5 separate regions of the Homo sapiens genome follow, and all the other regions are linked to region 1. Evidence: promoter capture Hi-C in 16 types of primary human blood cells and fetal thymus (Javierre and others, 2016). All regions are on one chromosome and are shown on one strand. The core of a region is centred on a gene start or on the middle of the fragment in contact, and the rest is flanking DNA. Distances in the headings are between cores, read along the strand shown. Region 1 holds the start of CCAR2 (cell cycle and apoptosis regulator 2). Region 2 has its middle 6.9 kb from the start of PEBP4. Region 3 overlaps PEBP4 (phosphatidylethanolamine binding protein 4). Region 4 overlaps PEBP4 (phosphatidylethanolamine binding protein 4). Region 5 holds the start of PEBP4-AS1 (PEBP4 antisense RNA 1).

Region 1 (2,616 bases), core at 66-2,565:
GAAGCAATCTCCAGGAACCGCCCCTACCACCTTAAGCACGAGTCAACCAAAGGATGTGGTAAATCCAAAGGCTACAGCTCCAGCCAGCTCCTCCACAGAGCTTCACTGGCAATCACTGTGGGCATCTCCTGCTTTCCAGAGGAACATCAGCAGCAAATTGCTCTCCACCAGGGAAACCCCAAACTAACTCCAGAGCACATACTTCCCAGGATGAGGCCAGGTAGGGAGAACAGTGATCACCTGAGAAGTTGCGTCCCCCTGGAAGCGGGTTGATCCGCTGGCGCTTAAACTGGGACATTGGGAACGCTGTCCTCTTTCAGAGTCGTGGGGAAAAGGCTTCAATCCAAAAAGAAAGAAATTAACAGCTTATAAGGGAAATTTCCATCTATACCCGGAAAAGTGGAGAATCTTAAGTAAGGATATTTCGGAAAACAGGGAGGTGGGTAATAAGAATGAATGAAAGCAATGGATGGAGAGAATATAGAGAAGAAAGAAATGAAACAAGAAATTACATTGTTCCAGTTTGCCCTGACAATAACCTAGTGGTGCATGATACTGTCATGCTGTTTTACAGACAAGGAAACTGATGCTCAGAGAGATCAAGAGACTTGCCCGGGGCCACATAACCAGGTAGTGACAAAACTGCTACTCACACCCAGGCCTCCCAACAACTTAGCGCTCCTCTCACTATGCCACGCCACCCCCAGAGTAGCTGGCGGGGTGAGGGGCTCGAGAGAGCCCCGATGACATTCCTTCGTTCAAAAACATCCGCCAAAACCCTCCACGCAAGGCCCGGAAAAATGGAGGAGGCCGGTGCCGGCGAGGAGACTGTGTGGGCCCTCTCCCCGGAAGCCCGACCCGTTGTTTCCTCGACCGGCTGGTGGGAAGGCAGCTCCCTGGCCGACCAAACGCGAAACCGGCTGCGCGCCACCCTCCTGCTCCCACGCTCCCGGGCCCTCCGCTCCGGCCTCAGCAGCCGCCAGCGCCGGGTCTCCCAGCAGAGCCGCGGCGAGGCCACCAAGGGAGGACTGAGGCGCGCGGTTTCTCCTCCTCCCGCCCGCCCCCAAGGCCGAGGCCGTTGCCAGGGAGACGGGACTTGCAGTCCAAAGAGGGGCTCGGCCCCTTCCGCGCCCCACGCATCTTCGCCGCCCGGCCCTCGCAGCCCCTCGGCCAGCGGAGGGGCGGAGGGGCGAAGGGGCAGAGGGGCGGCAGGGGGCCCCCCAACCCACCTGCGGGCCAGGGCAGCGACACCGGGGGGACAAAGACACCCGGAACCACCACAGCCGCTGCTGCCGCCGCCACCGGAAGCGCCTCTCCGGAAGCGCGACCACTGGTCGGAAGCTGCCGCTCTCCCGGATATGGTCCCTCCCTCGTCTCCGCCGACCTCTCCCTTCCCCCACGCCGGCTTGCCATCCCGCGGCAACTGGGGAGCGGAAGTGCGCCTTCCCGGATCGGATGCGCGTCAGGAAGTCGCGCCTCGGTAGTGTCCTCGCTAAAGAATCCCATCAGGAAAGAAGGCTTCGGATCATTGGTTCCGGGCTCAAAGGAAGCGGGAGCTGGGCCCCCCAAACACAAGGGACCCCCGACTGCCTACCACGCTCGCCTCCCTCTGGCAGTCGAGACTGCAACAGATAAGGAAACCAGCCCCTCCTGACTGGAGGAGAAGGATGCCTATCAGTGACCATTTCTAAGAGACATTCCTGGTCTGACTCAAGCCAGTGACCACCATGCCTAGCCAGTCAGGAATCAGTGCCCTAATTCTCAAATATGAAATCTAAGAGGCCTCAATGAAATGACCTGCTCAAAATCTTGCCAGGAGACTGGCCATTTTAGTCCCCATTAGCAATCCCAGCCCCCCCTTATCCTCCGACCTCCCCATCATCACTCCAGCCTTACTTTCCCCTTTCCTATTCACCTGAGGTTTACAAAGCACTTTGAGGCAGTTTAATCTCACTTTATCCTCATAACAAGTCTGTGAGGTAGATAGGGCAGGCATCATTATTCCCAGCGGGAAGCTGTGGCTCAGAAAGGTTGACTTGGGGTCTAAAAACTAGTACAGGCATCTGGTTTGAATTAAGACCTGTAAACGCTAGTACGGAGCAGAGAAGCTGAGCACTGGCTTTGAAAGTTATTCAGTTCCCAGGTTGTCCCTGATCTTCCTCATTCCTTGTGCAGTCTTCAGGAGTCCGGGGCAAGATTCCATGCAGAGGCAGCCAAAGCCACACCGTTCTCTGTCCCAGGGCTGCCAGCATGGCTCTGAGGAGGAAAGCTCAGTAACTGCCCACTGGGGAATAAAGGTCAGTTCCATCCTTCTGCAGTGACCTCCCCCAGAATATCAACCCTTTGGATGCATTATTTCAGAAGAGATGGTTGGATCCAGCCAGCTTGCAACACTGACAGTCACACAGAGATATGCATACCATTGCGCATAAATACACATCTGCAACATGCTGGGCCCAGACAGGTCACCATGCCAAAAACACTCCACGGACACCTGACAATGAGTGAGTTCACATTGTGGAAGCCCAGGGATTTCTGGTGAGGAGGAAGAGCCCTGGAGCTGCGGCATCTTGGGGGCCTCTCAAGAAACCAAGGTTCCTGACCAGACTGCTTAGA
Region 2 (2,616 bases), core at 49-2,548, 330 kb before region 1:
TAGTATTTCTTTCTTTCTGCTAGCTTTGGGTTATCTTGTTCTTTTTTTTTTTTTTCCCTAGCTCCTTAAGGTGTAAATTTAGGTTGTTGATTTGAGATCCTCCTTCTTTTTTAATATAAGCATTTACAACTTCTCAATGTAAGCTTTTATAGCTATTTTACAGCATGTACAGCTTTCACTGCATCCCATACATCTTGGTATACCAGTTGTTTCCCTTATCGAAAACACTTGGGACAAGAAGTATTTCAAATTTCAAATTTTTCAGATTTTAGAATATTTGCATATATGAGATATTTTGGAGATGGGACCTAAGTCTAAACATGAAATTTATTTATGTTTATATATACCTTATACACAGCCTAAAGATAGTTTTATACAATATTATTAATAATGTTGTGCATAAAACAAAGTTTTGACTGTGACCCATCACATGAGGTCAGGTGTAGGATTTTTTCACTTGTAGTATTCCATAGGCCTTCAAAGTTTTAAATCTTGAAGCATTTCAGAATTCCAATTTTTGGCTTAGGGATGTATTGTGTTTTTTGTTTTTGAGACAGTCTCACTCTGCTGCCCAGGCTGGACTGCAGTGGAGCGATCTCAGCTCACTGCAACCTCTGCCTCCTGGGTTCAAGCAATTCTCCTGCCTCAGCCTCCCAAGTAGCTGGGATGGGACTACAGGTGCCTGCCACCATGCCCAGCTAATTTTTGTATTTTTAGTAGAGACATGGTTTCTCCATGTTGGCCAGGCTGGTCTTGAACTCCTGACCTCAAGTGATCCACCCACCTCGGCTTCCCAAAGTGCTGGGATGACAGGTGTGAGCCACCATGCCCAGCCAGTCTCCCATTTCTTTAATTGGTCTTCTGCCTAGTTGTTCTATTCACTATTAAAAGTGGAGTACTGAAATTTCCAATTACTGTTGTTAAGCTACCTATTTTTCCCTTCAATTCTATCCTTGTATGCTTATATATTTTGGATCCCTGATGTTTGGTGCATATAGGTTTATAACTGTTATATCTTCTTGATGAATTGATTCTTATCAATATACAATGCCCTTCTTTTTCTCTTGTAGAACTAGACTTTAAAATCTGTTTTGTCTGATATTAATATAGCCATCCCTGTTCTCTTTTCGTTACTGTGTACATCTTTTTAAATCCTTTCTCTTTCAATCTATTTGTGTCCTTAGAGCTAAAGCAAGTCTATTGTGGACAGTATATAATTGAATCATTTTTAAAAAATCTAATCTGCCAGTTTATAACTTTTGACTGAGGCATTGAACCCAATTAAATTTAAATTTAAATCCATTTACTGATAGACAATGACTCAATGACTTATTTTGCCATTTTGTTATTTGTTTTCTGTATGTTTTAGCTCTTCTTGCTTGCTTGCTTGCTTGCATTCTTAAGAGATGGGGTCTCACTATGTGGCCCAGGCTGGCCTCAAACTCCTAGGCTCAAGTGATCCTCTCACCTCAGCCTCCCAAGCAGCTGGAACTACAGGCATGTGCCACTGCATCTGGCTGCTTTTCAGCTTTTTGTGTTCCTCATTTCCTCCATTTCTACCTTTCTTTACATTTAGTTGATTTTTTTTGTAGTGACATGTTTTATTCACTTCTCATTTCCTTTTGTGTATATTCTATAAATACATTTTGTGGTTACCATGGGAATTACATATAACATCCTAAAGTTATAATGATCTAATTTGAATTGATACTAACTTAACTTCAATTGCATACAAACATTTTACTTATACAGCTCCGTGCCCCCCATTTTGTGTTACCGATGTTAGAGTTTACATTATTATATACCCACTAACAAAGATTTATAATTATTTTATTCATTGTCTTTAAATCCTGTGCTATAATTTAGATATTTGTGCCCCGCAAAACTCATGTTGAAATTTGATCCCCAATATTGGAGGTGGGGCCCAATGGGTGGTGTTTGCATCTTGGGGGCAGACCTTTCATGAATAGAATGCAGTTCCAGGGGAGTGCATTCTCACTTTATTAGTTCCATGAGAACTGGTTGTTAAAAAGAGCCTGGCACCTCCCATTTCTCATTCCTGCTTTCTATTTCACTGTGTGATTTCTGCACACTCCAGCTTCCCTTTCCCTTCTAAAATGAGTGGGAAAAGGCTGAGGCTTTTACCAGATGCCCAGTCTTCCGGCCAGCAGAATTGTGAGCCAAATAAACCTCTTTATCAATTATCCAGCCTCAGGTATTCATTTATAACAGCACTAAATGGACTAAGACATCCTGTATTTAAAAGTGGAATTACAAACCAAAATTCCAACAATACTGGCTTTTTAATTTGCTGTGTGTTTACCTCAAACAAAGATCTTGATATATTTCTTCACCTAGTTTCAGCTTACTGTCATCTTTTCATTTCAACCTGAAGATCTACTTTCAGCATTTCTTGCAGGGCAGTGCTGGTGGTAATCAACTCCCTAAGCTTTTGTTTATCTGGGACTTTCTTAATTTCTCTCTTACTAATATTTTGGAAGATACTTTTGCTGGACATAGAATTCTTAATTGACAACTTTTCTTCTTTCAGTACTTTATATCATCCCAATGCCCCCTGGGCTTCAAAGTTTCTGCTGATAAATTGGCTGATAATTT
Region 3 (2,616 bases), core at 64-2,563, 310 kb before region 1:
GGGAAGAGTCATAGAAGTGGGAAATGGGTCTGCTGCTGCCCTAAGCAGCCAGAGTGTGTTTTGGGGAAGCTGATCTGGCCTTCTGGTCTCCGCTTCTTTATTTCTTGACTCCTGGGCCAGACTGAGCCCGCAGAGTGTCAATGGTGGAGACTGGCCTCTTTTCTGCTGTGTTTTAGAAGGAGGTGCTGCTGTCAATCTAGGCAGGACTTGGGTCACAAATGCCTGGAGATGGAAGGGTCGTGGCCGGGATGTGACCAAGCACACACACCAAGGCTGACCTTCTGGTCCTTTCTGTGCAGGGTGGCAGGGAAGGGCCACAAGGGGTTCTTCCTTCCCCTCAGTGCTGCCTTGGTTAGGCCTCATGCAGTCAGCTAAGCCCAGTAGGACAACAAGCTCCAGAGGGCGGCAGCACACAAGTTACTCCAATGCGGGGAATAGACTCTTCTCTTTGAAGTGTTTTTCACTATCAGAGAGCAAATAGATTGTGATATGGCTCGCAAGTTATGAGGCTGTTGTCATGAAGCTTTGCTAGGTTGTCTTGTTTGCAAACACGACAAACACCCTTTCCTTTGGGAAGACGAGCAATAAAGTGCACACGTGCACATGTGTGCACATGTGCACACACACACTTGCATGCACACCCATGTGCACACAGCGTCAGCCCTCTTCCCTGGAAACCCTTGGACTGGGCACACCTGTGGACAGCCAAGAGGAGCAGAGAAAGGAAGCCTGCTGATTCTAACTCCTGGGATGGGAGGTGCAGAGGCCGGGCAGGAACCCAATCTTTTAGAGGAGTATATGCTACTCTGCGGGACAGGACTCTCGGCTTCACCATCCATTCACTTGTCTTGGGGTTTGTCCCTTATGTAGTGAGGGTCAGTCGGATGCTTTCACAGGCCAGGGACAGTCCCAAGGGAATTCTCCCCAAAGGGCTCCCTTCCGCGTGCTGATGATGCTGCAGACATCCACTAGATGGCAGTGTAGACTTTTCTGAGCACCTGGTGTCCTCCAGAGCAGGGATTTGAAGCCTGTTGGGAAAGTCTTTGGTTTGATTTGGTTTCGTTGCCCTGGCTTATCAGCACATTACACAAAGACGACATCACCCACGCCACATCCTGAAGTCTTGTACTGTTAAACCCATCCTGCCTCAGCCCGGGGGTGGGGTGGGGAGAAAACGGATGTGGAACATAGAGATTTATGAGGAACACAGAGCTGTGGTCAAGAAAGCCTGGGAGAGTGAAGATTTTACAAAGGAAGATTTGATCGAAGCTGTGGGAAGAAGAAAAACATAGTATTCTACTACTATGGAACTATAGTTTATGGAAATGTAACAGACCTATGAGAAGGCAGATTCAGAGAGATTTGCCAAAGTGGTCAGTGAGTGCCACCTTATTCCATTCCTGGGCACTACTCGGACCTTTCATTTAAGTCTCCAAGTTAAGTATTTCTTTCATCAAGACTATTAATGGCATGTGACAAAAAGTCAACTCAAATCGGCTTAAGCCAGAAAAGAGGGGGAAACATTGGTTCACAAAACTGAAAACTCCAGGGATAACTTCAGGCGAGGCTGGATCCAGGTGCTCAGTGTCACCAGGAATCTGTCTCTTGATTGTTTTTTTCTGTGCTGTTTTCATTTGTAAATAGAGTCTTCCCTTGTGACAAAGATGGCCCCAACAGCCTTAGGTTTGTGTTTGACCAATTTGTCAACCCCAGTGGAAATAGGGTTTTCCATCCATTAAAAGTCACAGGATTGGTCTCGCTTTGGTCTTGTGCCTATCCCTGAACCTAGCAGTGACCCTCTACAGCTCCCCTTAATCTACAAGGACTGAGAGTAGAGGAGGATGGTTGCCCTGAATGCAAGTCAAGGTGTGATTGATCAGATAAGGGTGAAAGGATGTTAGGTAGGAAATGCAAGGCAGGTCCTATGGAAGTGAGTAATCTGGCCAAGTACAGAGCTGAAAGGTGCCAGAGCCAGAGTCAAAGCCAGGTCTGCCCAACTCCAGAGCCCATGGGCCTGGCCAGTGGGCCACTGGCAAGGGCTCTAAGGGAGACACCAGGGGGCGCTGGCACAGGCAGGGGTGGGCTGGCCGAAGGGAAGCTTTCCCTGGTTAGAATGGAAGGGGGTGGGCAGGAAGGATAGTTCTTCCTAGGGAAGGTGGTAGTTGGAGCTTCCCTTAAGGGAGAGGGCATGACTGGTGAGGCTGGAGGAGCAAGTGCTACCTGGGTCCCTCAAGAAAAGGGTGCGGGGAGCCTGAGTGTTTAGGACAGAGAAGAGCATGAAGGTATTTCTTCTGGGCCTGATGGAGAAGGGCACGAGTTGGTGACTGCTATGTGGGGATGGTGCATTGCTTCCAAGGTGACTGAAGCAATGCCACCAAAGCAGTGACTGCCATTGGACATGCCTGGGAACACCCCCCCCTCCCCCGCCCCCAGCAAACTCCAAAGCCCTGGAAAGAGGGGTGCAGCAGTGCCTCTGTGCCCACCATAGAGCTTCCCACCTCCATATTCTGGCATTGGCCACTTCCCCATCCTTGGCGTCTTTGGACCCTGCTCCCGTCACAATGCTTCCTCCTCTAGGAAGCCTTCCCTGACTGCCTCCCTCTGGGCTCCACCTAC
Region 4 (2,616 bases), core at 51-2,550, 290 kb before region 1:
CGGTTAAAGGAGCCATTGGAGTAAGAATTGATAGGTCAGCGGGAGCAAAACTCAACCATTCCTGATTAATTAGTATTACCGTGGCCTATGTATTTCTCTAGTTCAGATCTTCATCAGATCACACTCCAGCTATGACAGTGATTGTCCAAGCTCCATTCCCTGTCTCTCCTCCCAGACTAGGACATCTTCTTCTTCTGGGTTCCCACATCATTCTAGGTTCCAGTGGCACTTTTCTTACTTGATGCAAGGATGTGGGATTTGGGAACATGGTTTCATCTCTCCAACCACAATACCAGCAACTTTCAGGCAACTGTCTGATGCCACACAGCAAATCTGCCCCAGGGCAGAGGGGGCAGTAGGTAGGCAGTAACTGGGAGCACAGGCAGAGAGGCTGGCATGAAGAAACCTGCCCATGGGAAGCAGGGCCAATGCCACCTAGGCTGGGTTCAAGGATGTGGCCAAAAAAGCAGAACTTCCGACAAACTTGGAAAACTAGTCAGGTTACTGAAACAGGAACTTAAGCTTCTCAGCAAATTAGACGTAACATATAAACTGGAAAAATCAGTGAACTTGAAGATAGAGCAACAGAAATGATCTAAAGAAATATAAAGAGAGAAAAGAAGGCTGGGGGACAGAACAGAGCACCCAAGCATTGTGAGACAACATAAAATGGTCTAACATATGTATAGTTGGGATCTCATTAAGAAAAGAGAGCAGAGTAGAACTATTTGAAGAGATAATGACCAAGAACTTGTTAAAGAAAGGCAACATACCACAAGTCCAAGATACTCAGAGAACCTTAATCAGAATTTTTAAAAAAATCCACCTAGATGTGTCATGATCAAACTGCTAAAAACCAAAGATAAATTCTGAAGACAACCAAGGAAAACAGAATGCCGGTGTCCCCCTCACCAAAGCATGTCTAAATGCTTGTGAAGAAAGTATGTTCTCCTGGGACAGAGTGAAGGAGGGTATGTGGGGAACACATGTGTAAGCCCACCCCAACATTATTATGCCTCTCCAGGTATTAAGATTCCTTGCTTTATATCAAGGAACTTCTGTCACCTTAGCTTTATTTAGTATAGGATGCCATTCAGTTCAGGTTTCATTTCAGATAACCCACTGAGTGAACAGAACCATACCCAGATGATCCAGCCAGTACTTTGGATCCAGAATCCATATTGATCAATATGGCCCAATTGAAAATGATCTTCTTTCCTCCGTGATCAGCACCTTACTATACATTTCTCAGATTTCTGCCAATAAATATTAAAAAACAAATGGCACCTACTTTGGTGTGAAAGTCTACTGTTTCAGAATCAGACTTTGTGCTTGTCTCCCTTGGCCATGCTGAAATCTGATTCTAGAATAGGTCAGGAGCAGCCAGGGGTGGTAAGTGTCGACCTCAGGGAGAATCAGGATTCTCTTGCAAGACAGGACCTGGGGAAAAGGGGCAGCTTCTGCTGGAAAGGGAGGCTCAGCAGGGTCTAAGACTCAGTTATATGAATTCAGCATCCCCATTCACAGGGTTCCATCTTTCCCAGTCAACACCATCTCCCATAAGAGACCTGATGAGGCTGTGAACTTAACTTAGGTTGTAATTCTACAACCTGCTGGGTCAGACTTCACTTCTGATTTCAGTTTTGTTGGCCCTGAAACTACAAACCGTGGGAGATTCTTTCAGGATAGTCTTAACTGTTCCTTGCTCTTCTGATTGAGCCTTGAGCCAAGAATTTATTACTATTTTATTTTATTTTTAGAGACAGGGTCTCACTCTGTTGCCCAAGCTGGAGTGCAGTGGCATGATTACGGTTCACTGCAGCCTTGACCTCCTGGAATCAAGCAATCTTCCCACCTCAGCCTCCTGAGTAGCTGGGACTACAGGCACATGCCACTATGCTTGGAATTTTTTTTATTTATTTTTTATTTTTTGTAGAGACAGGGTCTTACCATGTTGCCTGGGCTGGTCTCGAACTCCTGGGCTGAAGCCATCCATCTGCCTTGGCTTCCCAAAGTGCTGGGATTATAGAGTGAGCCACTATGCATGGCTGTGCCAAGAATTTAAACCTCAAGCTTCTAACCATTTTTCTTTACTTTTCCCACTTCTGGCAGAAGAAGTCATCTTATTCCAACATCTTTATATTCATCATTCTGACATAATAATCTATCGTGCAATTCCGCCAAACTCTTATCTTCAATGGGTACTTTGTTCTAGGTAATCACACTTGATAATCAAGATTATTTTGCTACTATATGCCGCGGGCTGCCAGTGACACATTTGCTAATGGTAACCTGTGCTCTCATCTTCACTGGTTTTAAGCAATTTGATTGTGATGTGTTTGGTGTAGTTTTCTCATGTGTCTTGTGCTTGGCATTTCTTTGGTTGGGCTTCTGGGATCTGTGGGTTTACAGTTTTCATCAAATTAAGACATTTTTCAGCCATTATGTCTTCTAATATTTTTTCTAATATTCCCTAAAAGGGAATTTTAGGGACTCCTATTGCATGTATATTTGGCTACTTGAAGATGTCCCACAGCTCACTGATATGCTATTCTGGTGGGTTTTTTTCAGTCTTTTTTCTCTCTGTGTTTTATTTTGAATAGTTTCTATTGCTGT
Region 5 (2,616 bases), core at 41-2,540, 270 kb before region 1:
ATGTCGCAATGCAATATGTTGAGTGCTGTTCTGTCAACATTGAGAGCGTTGAGGCCACACTCTCGTTCTGTGGCCTCACACAGATCAGTTAAACCTCCATGTCTGGTCTTCATCGTCACTGGGGATATTTGCTTCCCTTCCTAGCTGAGATCTATTCACTGTGAGTGGGCTCTGAGATGAGATTAGGATAGAGCATAGTAAAATGTTTCCCATGGGGAAGGGCTTGTCCTCTCTTTCAGTCTCTAAAGAGATGAAGGAACACAGAGGAGATACCACCCGCCCCATAGCCACGCTAAGCTGGGAACAAGAACTATAATTTTTAGCTCATCCCCCTACCCGGTGCTCTGTGATAAGAAACCAGCCCAACATCATTCTGGATGCCCTCTTCCAGCCTCCAGGGTCTGCCCGTGGTGGCTTAACTGTGATGACAGTTAAAATGCAAGAATACTTTCAAAAGGAGGGCTATTTTCCCCTTGGCATCCAGCTTGGCCTAGACATCCAGTTTGCTCTCTGTTCCCTGAGCTCCAAGCCTCCTCTCTGATGAAGCCAGGGAATGCACCCCTGTTTGGAGATCCTGTGCTCTGCCGACTTGCTCAGGCTGGCCAGTAGCAGAGTCCGAGTGAGCATCCCAGAGGAAGGAGGCCAGAGTACCCAAACCCAGAGGTGCCAGGCCCGGAGAGGGAAGCCCTCCCCACCTGTCTGCGCTTTGTGATTAGATATGAGCAATAGGGTAACTCACAGGCAGCAATCTCAGTCACTTGGTGTGTCAGGTAAACTGACGGGCAGAAAAGTGAGAAAGCACCACTTGGAAACCCAAGGCCACTGCCACACGGCCGGGTCCTGCCACCTCTCAGAGCCCTCCCACTGAGCATGCACTGACCCTCCACCCTCTCCCGCAGAGCCCATGCTGGTCTGACCTGCAGGATGTGTTTTCCGTAGAGGCCCCCAAATACCATCTTACCAGGCCAGTCCCCTACTATATTCTCTAACCTTAAATTCCAGGGATTCCGCCCCTCCCTCCCTCCCTCCCTCCCTCTCCCCCTCCCTCTCCATGCTCACCCTCCACCCCCTTTCCCTCAGGAGCTGCTCCTGTACCTGGAGTAGATTCACCTGCAAACACTCAGCTTGCAGGAGCACAGCAGACTGGGGAGTTTCCTTTCCCAGCCAAGCTGAGTTTGGAGGGGGGTGTGGGAGGAGGTGGGGAGGGCTGGGGACACAGGTTGAGTCTCTAAAGAATGAGGACTGCATTGCCTTCTTCCCTGCCTCCTGGTTACAGCTGAGAAAGTAACCAACTTCGTGTGTGTCTGTGTGTGTGTGTGTGTGTCTGCGCACGCGTGTGCAGTGTATGGATGCACAGACGGCCCCTCCATGGTGGGGTGGGGAGCCGTTCTCTCACCCTGCAGCTTTCTGCCTCTCCCTCCACCCTCCTCCGACTCCCTGCGTCCCACACTGCAGGTGTCTCTGAGGCAGTGTTTATGTAAGCAGCTCATGTTCTGCCGAGCGACAGCGAGAAGCTGTTGTCAATTCGAGGAAAGCCCCCGGCTGCCCACATGTGTGGTTGTCCCCGTGGGTTTCATAACAGGAGGGGGAGGTGGGGAGGTGGGGTGGTGGGCCCCTGGGGTGAGGGTGGCTGGGCTCAGCCCAGCCCAGGAGCCTCCTCCCCGCTGCCAACAGTGAGCCCGCCCGTGTGTTCACAAGCTGCTGGCCTCACCTCCTCTCCTCCCAGCTAGTTTCCCAGCCATTTGGCTACGGAGAGACAAAGTCAGTGCCTCCTGGCTCTGGCTGGCTCTGCCCAAGAATGTAGTACTTGGGTCGTGCTGGGCTACTGGAGTCAGGGCAAATAACCTGACATTTTGAAGGCACAAAAGTCCCAAGGACCTGCCAACCAACCAGGAGGTTGGTTTGATTCTGACCTCAGAATCAAAACATGGACCTGACGTTTTGATTCACAATAAGGACACGTAGCCCCATCATCTTTCTATTCCAAAGTCAGCTGTCCTCACCTGGACAACTGAGGACAGGGAGAGACTGGACAAAAAGGGCTCTTAGCCATTACAGTAGAAATGGCTGGGACACCTTATCCCTGAGGCTGAGGGCTGTTTGAGGATTCCCATTCAGCACAGCCTGGTTTGAGGAGGAAAGAAAAGACCAAAACATGGTGTCCACTTGATATGTTTATAAGGGTGGAATAAACTCCCTGAAACCCAAATCATAATTCAAATAGCTAATATATATGGAGTGCTTTTCTGATCCAAGCATCATGCTATGAAATGTACATTTCAGTCCTGGCAAAGACTTAATGAAGGAGGCACTATTAGCCTCATTTTAAAGATAAGGGTCCAAGGCCCAGAGAGGTTGAATAACTAGTCCAGCCTCACACAGCAGTTAAGGGAGAGGTTCTCCTTTCTACCCTGAACATTAACAGAAATGTGTTTACATTTTCTGGCTAACCAAGCCAGATTTTGGCTTTGCTCCAAGGAAGCTAATGTCCCACCTGAGAAGTAGCTTTGTTTAAACAGTGGAGAAAATAATTCCTAACTCATTTATTTACTTCTAATTTTACACTTCAAGTGCTGTTTATTTTCACAACAACACAAGCGCTATAAACATACACTG

The links. The method cuts DNA at HindIII sites, captures the fragments that hold promoters and counts their contacts. A CHiCAGO score of 5 or more calls a contact.
Region 2: a contact is called between a fragment that was not itself captured here and the fragment with the promoter of CCAR2 in region 1, in 1 of 17 cell types (endothelial precursors). The highest score is 8.4, in endothelial precursors.
Region 3: a fragment that was not itself captured here is called in contact with the fragment with the promoter of CCAR2 in region 1 in 16 of 17 cell types (endothelial precursors, fetal thymus, naive CD4 T cells and 13 more); the score reaches 20.9 in endothelial precursors.
Region 4: a contact is called between a fragment that was not itself captured here and the fragment with the promoter of CCAR2 in region 1, in 6 of 17 cell types (M0 macrophages, endothelial precursors, M1 macrophages and 3 more). The highest score is 8.6, in M0 macrophages.
Region 5: a contact is called between the fragment with the promoter of PEBP4-AS1 here and the fragment with the promoter of CCAR2 in region 1, in 3 of 17 cell types (M2 macrophages, M0 macrophages and endothelial precursors). The highest score is 5.7, in M2 macrophages.

Annotation. Positions count from the first base shown.
Region 1 is chr8:22,603,456-22,606,071 of GRCh38, reverse strand. It overlaps CCAR2 (cell cycle and apoptosis regulator 2), which reads right to left and starts at 1,315. Exons shown (of 21, transcript NM_001393997.1): 1 at 1,230-1,315; 2 at 241-336. The coding sequence starts at 298. C8orf58 (chromosome 8 open reading frame 58) reads right to left here. Exons shown (of 7, transcript NM_001013842.3): 7 at 1,930-2,616. It overlaps LOC107986876 (a long non-coding RNA gene), which reads left to right and starts at 1,072. Exons shown (of 1, transcript NR_160769.1): 1 at 1,072-2,616. RefSeq lists silencers at 898-957, 1,018-1,317 and enhancers at 981-1,481, 1,488-1,597. The HindIII fragment of the contact is 4,257 bases long and covers 1-2,616 here.
Region 2 is chr8:22,933,458-22,936,073 of GRCh38, reverse strand. It overlaps a transcript of PEBP4 not described here. Among named protein-coding and RNA genes, the nearest start is that of PEBP4, 6.9 kb to the right of the region's middle. The HindIII fragment of the contact is 2,306 bases long and covers 146-2,451 here.
Region 3 is chr8:22,916,932-22,919,547 of GRCh38, reverse strand. The region is part of intron 3 of PEBP4 (phosphatidylethanolamine binding protein 4); the gene reads left to right. Among named protein-coding and RNA genes, the nearest start is that of PEBP4, 9.7 kb to the left of the region's middle. RefSeq lists an enhancer at 1-2. The HindIII fragment of the contact is 1,575 bases long and covers 526-2,100 here.
Region 4 is chr8:22,893,725-22,896,340 of GRCh38, reverse strand. The region is part of intron 3 of PEBP4 (phosphatidylethanolamine binding protein 4); the gene reads left to right. LOC124901907 (a long non-coding RNA gene) reads left to right here. Exons shown (of 2, transcript XR_007060854.1): 2 at 1-1,290. Among named protein-coding and RNA genes, the nearest start is that of PEBP4-AS1, 17 kb to the right of the region's middle. The HindIII fragment of the contact is 1,551 bases long and covers 525-2,075 here.
Region 5 is chr8:22,876,646-22,879,261 of GRCh38, reverse strand. PEBP4-AS1 (PEBP4 antisense RNA 1) reads right to left here and starts at 1,290. Exons shown (of 4, transcript NR_125433.1): 1 at 1,111-1,290. The region is part of intron 3 of PEBP4 (phosphatidylethanolamine binding protein 4); the gene reads left to right. RefSeq lists a silencer at 1,638-1,707. The HindIII fragment of the contact is 10,906 bases long and covers 1-2,616 here.